2 separate regions of the Homo sapiens genome follow, and region 2 is linked to region 1. Evidence: promoter capture Hi-C in human tissues and cell types (Jung and others, 2019). All regions are on one chromosome and are shown on one strand. The core of a region is centred on a gene start or on the middle of the fragment in contact, and the rest is flanking DNA. Distances in the headings are between cores, read along the strand shown. Region 1 holds the start of TMEM183A (transmembrane protein 183A). Region 2 has its middle 7.6 kb from the start of LINC01353.

Region 1 (4,724 bases), core at 1,533-4,032:
ATGAGACAACATTCTTGTTAAAACCCAAGTTTTTTATAGTGACATTGTAATAGGGTTTATGTTTCTTGTAACTTTGATTTCCTCCAGAATCTGAATGCCTGAGTGTTTTCAACAGGGTGCCACATGAGTAGAAATCTACATCTATGTGAACCTTGTGAAATTTTTATTACACTTTTTTTGGTCTTTTTTTTTTTTTACCTTTTTGTGGAGAATGGGGTCTTGTTGCCCAGGCAGGTCTCAAACTCCTGAGCTCAAGTATTCTCCCGCCTCCACCTCCCTAGGTGCTGGGATTACAAGCGTGAGCCACCATACCCGGCCATGAATTTTTTATTGATAACGTTGTGAAATGAGAAGCCTCAGCACTTACCATCTGCATTTTGAACTGGACTACAAACATGAATTACATATAAATAGAAACCTTATTTGAAAGAATTTTCTTTTGTTAACAGCTTATTAGACATTTGTTTCATGTTGTAACTTTAGATAAATTAAATTTGAATATTTCATAATTGTAATCAATTCTCTTCAGCTTCAATTTTAATTCCTAATTGATTCAAGCCTATTAGCAAGATCCCTGGTGGTAGTCTGTTACATAATGTTAGTAAAAGGCCTGAGGTTTTTCTCCTAACAAACTTGGTGCCAGCTCGTTAGACTGAAAATAAGATACTCTCTGGTAGATCCAGCGGATTGGATGCCTGGGTCCTAAGTTTCCCAAGCCAGGGATTATCACCTTTTAGGAGCTGCAAGGAAGTTAGAAGGATAAAGGAGAATAACTTAGGAAACCAAATAACTTCTTATGTGTCGCGGTGATACTTTTCTTTTTTTTTTAATTTATTTATTTATTTACTTTTCATGCGCGTCTGTGTGAAGAGACCACCAAACAGGCTTTGTGTGAGCAATAAAGCTCTTAATCACCTGGGTGCAGGCGGGCTGAGTCGGAAAAGAGAGTCAGTGAAGGGAGATAAGGGTGGGGCCGTTTTATAGGATTTGGGTAGATAAAGGAAAATTGCAGTCAAAGGGGATTTGTTCTCTGGTGGGCAGGAGTGGGGGTCGCAAGGTGCTCAGTGGGGGAGCTTTTTGAGCCAGGAAAAGGACTTTCACAAGGTAATGTCATCACTTAAGGAAGGACTGGCCATTTTCACTTCTTTTGTGGTGGAATGTCATCAGTTAAGGCGGGGCAGGGCATTTTCACTTTTGTGATTCTTCAGTTACTTCAGGCCATCTGGGCGTACACGTGCAAGTCACCAGGGATGCGGTGGCGTGGCTTGGGCTCAGAGGCCTGATAATACTAGCCCAGGGTCCTGCTCCCTTACAGTTCTGTAATCTTCACTCAGTGACTCGCTTCTGTCTCAATACAAAGGAAAGACGTTATTTTTTCTTTTTCTCCTTTTTTTTTTTTTGAGGCAGGGTATCGCTCTGTAGCCCAGGCTGGAGTGCAGTGGCGCAATCATGGCCCACTGCAGCCTTGACCTCCTGGACTCAAGTGACCTTCCTGCCTCTGCGATAGTTTTTCATGGATGCTTCTAGTAGTTTTTTGGAGGTATGGTGTGTTAGGAACAAACTGCCCCAAAAAGCTTCTTGGTACTGCCGACACTTCCCCCAAACCTCTCCGTGCTGCTCACTCCTCCCCCTAATGCTCTGCAACTCTTCTCCTTCCCCCAAGCCTCTTTACACTTCTAAGTCCTTATGAAGCCAGCAGACTTCACTTATCAGACCTTGCTGCAATAAACAAACCCCAATTACAAATCATCCGGACCGCACAGGGGAAGGTGATGGGAAGCATAAACAAACTTTACCTACACCCTCCTGTAATAAACGTCACAAGCTAATATGTGGCAAAATTAACCAGCAAACAACCCCAGGGTCTCTCTCCCCCATATAAACCCCTCATTTTGTAAGCTCAGGGGTGCCTCCTCTGTCTGTGGTGGAGCAGCCGTCAGGTTAATAAACTTCCTCGGCTGACCTTGGGTCTCTCTTTCGTCCTTTCTCTCGGCTAACCTTATATGGTGATAGATTGGAAACTTTTTTTTTTTTGAGACGGAGTCTTGCTCTGTCGCCCAGGCTGGAGTGCAGTGACCCGATCTCAGCTCACTGCAAGCTCCGCCTCCCGGGTTCATGCCATTCTTCCGCCTCAGCCTCCCGAGTAGCTGGGACTACAGGCGCCCGCCACCACGCCCGGCTAATATTTTGTATTTTTAGTAGAGACGGGGTTTCACCGTGTTAGCCAGGATGGTCTCGATCTCCTGACCTCGTGATCCGCCCGCCTCGGCCTTCCAAAGTACTGGGATTAGGGGCGTGAGCCACCGCGCCCGGCCGATTGGAAGCTTTTAAGAACTCCTTCTCCTATTTTGAGAATTCAGAAATTTATTTATAGCTTTCGTAAAATAGAGTGAAGACTCTTACAGACCTATGTTAGACTAGCAGGCGCTCAGTCTCTGTGGTCCGAGATAGAGCACGAAGATGACAGTGTATATGCATTTTGGTGCTGAAGTGGACCTGGAGTGTGGACAGAGGAGTTACTAAGAAGAATCCCGGAGACCAGGATGTAAACTCTCAATTCTAATCAACACAGGTGTGGGCTATGGTTCTGAGACACCATTCATCTCACACGAGGTACGGCGATACGCGACACCACCCAGTACAACAGCTCTCTCTCCACCTGGAACCCGGACCCAGCTTGATTCGCGGGTGCCGGATGATGACGTATCCTTGCACCTGGCGATGATTGGTTCGCGTGGAGAGGCGTCGTCCGACAACGCGACTCGGAACCCGGACCTATGTTCTCGCGAGAGTTAGCGGCCTCCGGTGTGGGATGGCCGCGGAGCCGGGCGGAGCTGGCTTGCGGCTCCCGGGGCCGGCTCTCCGGCCGGAGACATGGCCCGGGGGCCCGGCCCGCTAGGCAGGCCTCGCCCCGATACGGTCGCCATGCCCAAGAGAGGAAAGCGACTCAAGTTCCGGGCCCACGACGCCTGCTCCGGCCGAGGTGGGCGAGGGGGGCAGGGGCGCTGAAACATTTTGGGGGCTGGCGGCTGGGAGGGGGCTGGACCGTGCCGAGGTGAGCGCTCGCGTGCCCGCGGCTGGAGGGCGGCTCGGTCCGGGGGCCTGCAGCGAGGAGGAGGTGTTGGCGGGGAAGACGCTGACGAGAGAAGGCCTCTTCCTTGAGGGTTGGTGCTGTGTTGCAGTGACCGTGGCGGATTACGCCAACTCGGATCCGGCGGTCGTGAGGTCTGGACGAGTCAAGAAAGCCGTAGCCAACGCTGTTCAGCAGGAAGGTAAGCTTTGCGCGAGCCTTTAAAGACTCATGCCGCGAAGACAGAACTAGGTATTTTATTTCTGTTTTTCTTGCAGTCCTTTAGTCGTCTTCCTGTAACCGTGTTTGCTTTCGTTAGTGTTAACTTACATATTGGGGTGGAGGAGGATTAGTCAAGAGTAGCAGTTTCTGTAGCAGAAATATTTTCTTTCTTTCTTTGCATTTAAAAACATGTTTGCATACTTTTTAGTTTCCACTGCATTCTTCTTGGTTATTAATCTCTTTGCTGTAGTTCACATGTTTTACTCTGCAGTTTGCTTCCTTGTTTAATAACCTTGGAGTGTTCTTTTCCTTTTCTGGTGTTTCTCTTGCTTTCAGTCTGTTTACTCATGGGTCTGAGACTTGTGTTTTATGACACCTACTGCCTCCAGCTCAGGACCAGGATTAAATTGGATTCAATTTGTCTCAAACATTTCTCTGTAGACCTTATGAGAATACAAATCAGCTTTTATCCTGCAGGGTTTATAGTGGAAAAATTGTACACACCTTTTTTCTTCAGGGCTGAAAAAAGGAGTTTCTGCAACTTTGGAGTCAGTTTGCCCATTGCTTTCCTTTTTTTTTTTTTTTTTTGTATTTAAAATACTAAAATCTTTATTTTTTTTGGTGACAGATTCTCACCTTTCTCTCTCAACGATGTTTTTTTTCCCCCCTTTCCTGAATGGATGCTGATACCTTGGCTAAGTTGTTTGTATTTCTGGGTGGAGCTGTGTGCCATCTCATTCTCCTTTTATTTTCTTCTAGTAAAATCTCTTTGTGGCTTGGAAGCCTCTCAGGTTCCTGCAGAGGAAGCTCTTTCTGGGGCTGGTGAGCCCTGTGACATCATCGACAGCAGTGATGAGATGGATGCCCAGGAGGAAAGCATCCATGAGAGAACTGTCTCCAGAAAAAAGAAAAGCAAGAGACACAAAGGTATGGAGCTTGTTCTCTTTTGGTTTATTAGACCTGCCTGTGGTGACAAATTGAAGATGTTACTTTCCCAGTAGCACAGGAGGAGATATAAGACGTGATACCAGGAGAGTTTAAAGAAAACTTGGCTCTCCCTAAGAACCTTGGTAGTGGGCCGGGATTTAATACACCTGGGCTTTCTTTTTTCTTTTGTCTGAATTCGAGAGGGAAAGAGATTAGTACGTGTTAGTAGAGTTCTGGAGCTGTGAACTGGACTCTAGTAGCCCTTCATTGAGAACATGTTATTATCAGGTAAAAACCCATAAGGCAATGTGAAAATAAAAGGCCTTTGCATTTCTGGATTTCTGAATGTGTAAGGAAGCAGAGATGTAACCAAAAAATGTTTTCCAAAGTATGTGGATTTTACGTTAACTAGTTTTGTTACACACAAACATAGACATTATCGTGGGCTTTTAAGTGCTCTGCAATTAGTAATGTCTGCTTTATGTCTAATAAGTATTGTGGGAAA
Region 2 (4,724 bases), core at 1,398-3,897, 290 kb after region 1:
TGACCCTGAGCGCTCTCACTGTTGTGAGCCGTGTCAGGCCTGTCTCTTGTTTCTTCATATGAATTCCTTACAAGGTCTGTATATACATCATGGGCTTTAGTGAAGGTTGGGGTCTCCTGAGGGGGTTAATTTTGCAAAAATGTAAAGAGCTTAAAAAGGGAGTGTTGGGCATTTCTGTTCTTAAACTTCCCTCGGCTTCCTCTCTCACATTGGCTCTAGGCCCTCCCAACACCATTTTAAGGTTACTCAAGCCCCCTTTTTTTGCTGCTCTCTCTCAGGAACAAAAATATAGATTCCTCTTGTTTTCTTCTGTGGAGTAATTCAGCTCTAACCTCCAGCCACACCTCTGAACCTGTCTAAGAATTCAACGAGATAGGTCCAAAGCTTCTGAGTGTGTAAGTTCGTAGGCAAAGAGCCACTTTTTTTTTCTTTTTTTTTTTGAGACGGAGTTTCGCTCTTGTTGCCCAGGCTGGAATGCAATGGCACAATCTCGGCTCACTGGAATCTCTGCCTCCCAGGTTCAAGCGATTCTTCTGCCTCAGCCTCCCGAGTAGCTAGGATTACAGGCAAGCGCCACTACGCCCTGCTAATTTTGTATTTTTAGTAGAGACAGGGTTTCTCCATGTTGGTCAGGCTGGTCTTGAACTCCCGACCTCAGGTGATCTGCCCGCCTCAGCCTCCCAAAGTGCTGGGATTACAGGTGTGAGCCACTGCGCCTGGCCGAGCCGCTTTTTTTAAGCCTGGCAGGTCAGGCTGGAAGATCGTGGTGGTGGTCTTCCTGGACTTATGCAATGTTTTTACATAAGGATATTGACTTACAATAGATTCTGCTGAATTCAAAAAATAGGGGACACAGAGTTGTTCTCTTTCTAGGAGCTTACCCATTCCCACTAAGATAATCATTCTGTTACATGTTTGGGAGCTCAATCGTCTCAAAGCCCTCTTAGACATACCTCATAACCTTCCTGTCTCCATTCACCTCATGAGTTTTTGCCATGGGTTCCACCTTGCTTCTACACAACTCTAATGCTTCAGGGAGGCAGCTGAAACCACCTGGGGCCACCTGACTATTTGACCGAGCGAGGCTCAACCCCTGACCTCAGAGAGTTCCTGAGCCAAGAGGGAAGGAAGGAAACCCTGAAATAAGGATAGAAAGAAATGTAGAGATGATATTGATTGTTACTATCCCAGCCATTATCCTGATTACTTCTGTTGTCGTTATGGGCTCTTATGAAAGGTAAACCCAATTGAGGAAGATACTAAATGCCAACTGAGAACAACTTCAGACTCTTTGGCTCCAGTATTCCAACATAGGGATTCATATCATAAATTTCTTCTTGAGGAATGTGTGGATGTAGCGGGCTGGTGGGGGTGGGTTTTAACAGGCTAACTTGAATGCTTTTTTATATTTCACAATGAAAACTATATAATGCAGGTATTTCCCTTTTTACCTTGGCTTCCTGGAAGTTCAAAGATAAATTTAGGTGTCAAAGAAGTATCTGATTCAAACAAGTTTGTAAATATCTATCTTTCTCTTTCTTCCTCCTACTACCAATTCGTTTCTGATCTTTAATATAATATAAACACACACATAAAATCATCCTCTATGTGGTTTAATATTTTAAGCTGTCTCAAATTCTTCTTGGAAGTAAGCAAAGTATAAATTATAAGTAATAATAGTTAACATGTACTGACCACTATTATGTGCCAGACACTATTCTAAGTATTGTAAACTCATTTGATTCTCCCAACAACTCTAAGAGGTAAGAATTACTATTAATCTCATTTTATAGATAAAGAAATTAAGGCACAGAAAGCTTCAATAACTTGCCTAAGGTAGCACAGCTAGGATTTGAACCTAAGCAGTGTGGCTTTAAGGGATGTGCTCTGCCCATCGCACTAGAACAAATCCGTCAGTTCAAAAACTTAATTAGCCCATCCAGGGACACCAATGTAAAAAAGCATAATTATATGCCATCGGAGCCAGTCATCATCAAAACAAGACTGATATAAGGCCAGGTGCCTATAATCCCAACACTTTGGGACGCCGAGGTGGGCAGATCCCTTGAGGTCAGGAGTTTGAGACGAGCCTGGCCAACATGGAGAAACCCCGTCTCTACTAAAAATAACAAAAATTAGCCAGGTGTGGTGGCGCACAGCTGTAATCCCAGCTACCCAGGAAGCTGAGGCAGGAGAATAGCTTGAACACGGGAGATGGAGGTTGCTGTGAGCCGAGACCATGCCACTATACTCCAGCCTAAGCAACAGAGTGAGATCCTGTCTCAAAAAAAAAGACTAATATATCATAACAAGCAGCTCAGGCCACCCATTCTTAATCTAAATAAAGATTCCTTTCCACTCCTCCCCAACCTTATTCTTAGTGGAAGGGATGGAGGAAGTAGGATTTAGAATCCTTTCCCACCCTTCCCTAGCCCACTCTCACCCCACTACCCCAGCCCCCTTTTTAGAGACTTTCCTGACATGTCCATTGCCCTATATGTTCCTTACTTTTTTCTTCAATAATGTGGGAAAAATAATGTTTTCACTCCTTCTGTATCACTTGCACGGAGATAATTAGTCAGCTTTTTGATGGACAAAGAGCTGAACAGAGAGAATTTCAGGCAGAGCAAATAATATGAGTAAAGGTACAATAAGCTGGGCACTCAGCTACTCAGGAGGCTGAGGGAGGATGATCACTCGAGGTGAGGAGTTTGATGCTGTAGGGAGCTATGTTCATGCCTGTGAGTAAGCACAGCACTCCAGAGCCTGGGCAACATGGCAAGACCTCACTGTTGAAACTACAAAGGCACAATGGTATGAAAGTGCAAAGTATGTATTTGAGAAACACTGAGAATGGGTTAATTGAGCTTTGAGGTTGGGCCAGATTGTAAAGGCCTTGAAGGCCAAACCAAGAATTAAACTTTCAACTGTAGGGAGCCTTCAGAGCTTTTAAACATGAAAGAGACAAGACAGACCTGTAGTTTAGGAGCTCTGACAGCAGAGTATGGACTGAGGAAAGGGCAGGAAGGGAAGCACTTCAGGCAAAGAGACCACTTAGGGAACTGTTGAAACTATCCAAGAACGATCTAACAGTTGGTGGCTTCAGTGATGCTGAGTAGAAGGTATTTCAAGAGGATAACTGACAGGACTGGGCCAGTAATTGGATATGGGATCCGCTCAGGAAGTAGGGCTCCAGGATATCTTGTCACCTCATCAGGAAAATCCTCTCTTGCTGGCAGGTGATCACGTATTCCACTAGGACCCAAGGAGTCATCAATGTGAACCATAGATGACAGATTAAGAGGCAGGGTGGGTCTCCTAGCCCAATACTCTTTTGTTACATATAAGCAAACTAAGGCTCAGGGAACTCCAACCATCTCTCCCTTTCTCCTAGCTCCTTCCTCCAAACCACACGGATCCCTGGACCTGAACCCATGGTGCAGTAGAGAAGTACCTCAGGCCCAGAGCCAGGAGGCCACAGGTGAGAAGCTGCAGTACCTCTTCTTTAGACTTTTTCTTGTGTCCTCCTTTCTGAATCTGTCTTCCTCTTCCCTTCAGCCCCCATCCCCCAGGTGGTCTCTGGCTGTCACAGCTGTGATGCCAGCTTCCTGCTTGCCCCAGACACTCAGCCCCAGGAGGCCCAGCCCCATTACGGCTCTGCCAAAACAACATCTGGGGAAGCTCCAATAGGTTCAGGGCCTCTTCTCTTGTTTTTTGTCTGGAGATAAAGGGGGTTTATCCTGGGCCCCTGGGAGTGAGGATGAGGAGGGTTTACAACATGTCTGTCTTCTAAATTTGGGAAAGAGGCAATAAATTCAGCTTCAGATCTGCTTCTGTCCCAAGTCCATGTGTTCCCCTGTGAGTTTCTGGCACTTTCAGTCACACCTTCTCGTACCATAGGAGAAGGCCTAGAGGGAGAAGGTGTGGGAGGTCACATTCTTGGGGGGCCTCCAGGATAACAGACTTTTAGCAGATCGTTCCCATCCTTTTGCTCCTGATACACCGAGGGAGTCGCAGAAACAAAAACACATCACTAGGGACCTTTCCAGCCATATTGGTCTGGCCATCTGTCCACGTCTCTTCCCCTTCCCCAGCTCCCACCTCATCCCGTCTTCACTGTCTCTCCTGTACCCTCCGCCATCCTTCTTGCCTTCACCCTTCCCTGACCACACAGCCAGGGTGGCAAAGGAGGGTGAGAAGCCCAGATCATTCATCTTCCCACAGACACTACTGGGTTAGTAGAGCACAGCAGCTGAGAAGCAACCCTCAGGGGAATACATGCCTTTGGGGGGAGCAGATTCCTTCCCCAGATGGGGCCTGGCATAGAGTCAGCTTTAGTTACAAGCTTGATGAATTCCTAACACTTTCCAGCCCCTCCCTCCCAGCAGCAGGAGAGTGGGCCTGTGTGGGCCAACGCGATGCAGAGTAACATGGAGAGGATGAAGAGGTGAGTTAGGGGAGCACACAGCCTGCATCCAGGACCCTGGAGGCCCTGTCCCTCCGAGACACGAAGACCACTCTGCAGTCGTCAAGGCAGTGGCTGGCCCCTGACAGCAGAAATGGAAGTTCCCTGGAGGTTGTCTTTCTCTGCCCTGTGCAGCACTCTGGGTCTCATGTCTCAGTTGCCAGGCCTCTCTCCTAGAACCCTGTGTTTGGTTGCCACCTCCAAGGCCCAGACAAGACTAAAATCCTCACTCCCTCTATGGATGCTGGTCACTGTCCGA

The links. Contacts are between HindIII fragments. The study calls those that stand out against the background at their distance.
Region 2: a fragment that was not itself captured here is called in contact with the fragment with the promoter of TMEM183A in region 1 in 1 of the 25 tissues and cell types used here (dorsolateral prefrontal cortex).

The regions. Positions count from the first base shown.
Region 1 is chr1:203,004,592-203,009,315 of GRCh38, forward strand. It overlaps TMEM183A (transmembrane protein 183A), which reads left to right and starts at 2,783. Exons shown (of 8, transcript NM_138391.6): 1 at 2,783-2,983; 2 at 3,183-3,272; 3 at 4,052-4,219. The coding sequence starts at 2,875. It also overlaps the pseudogene MGAT4FP. RefSeq lists enhancers at 586-1,360, 2,002-2,131, 2,135-2,909, 2,910-3,682, a cis regulatory region at 1,112-1,461 and a silencer at 2,842-3,091. The HindIII fragment of the contact is 3,668 bases long and covers 1,950-4,724 here.
Region 2 is chr1:203,292,382-203,297,105 of GRCh38, forward strand. No RefSeq gene overlaps it. Among named protein-coding and RNA genes, the nearest start is that of LINC01353, 7.6 kb to the left of the region's middle. RefSeq lists an enhancer at 3,978-4,479. The HindIII fragment of the contact is 5,946 bases long and covers 1-4,724 here.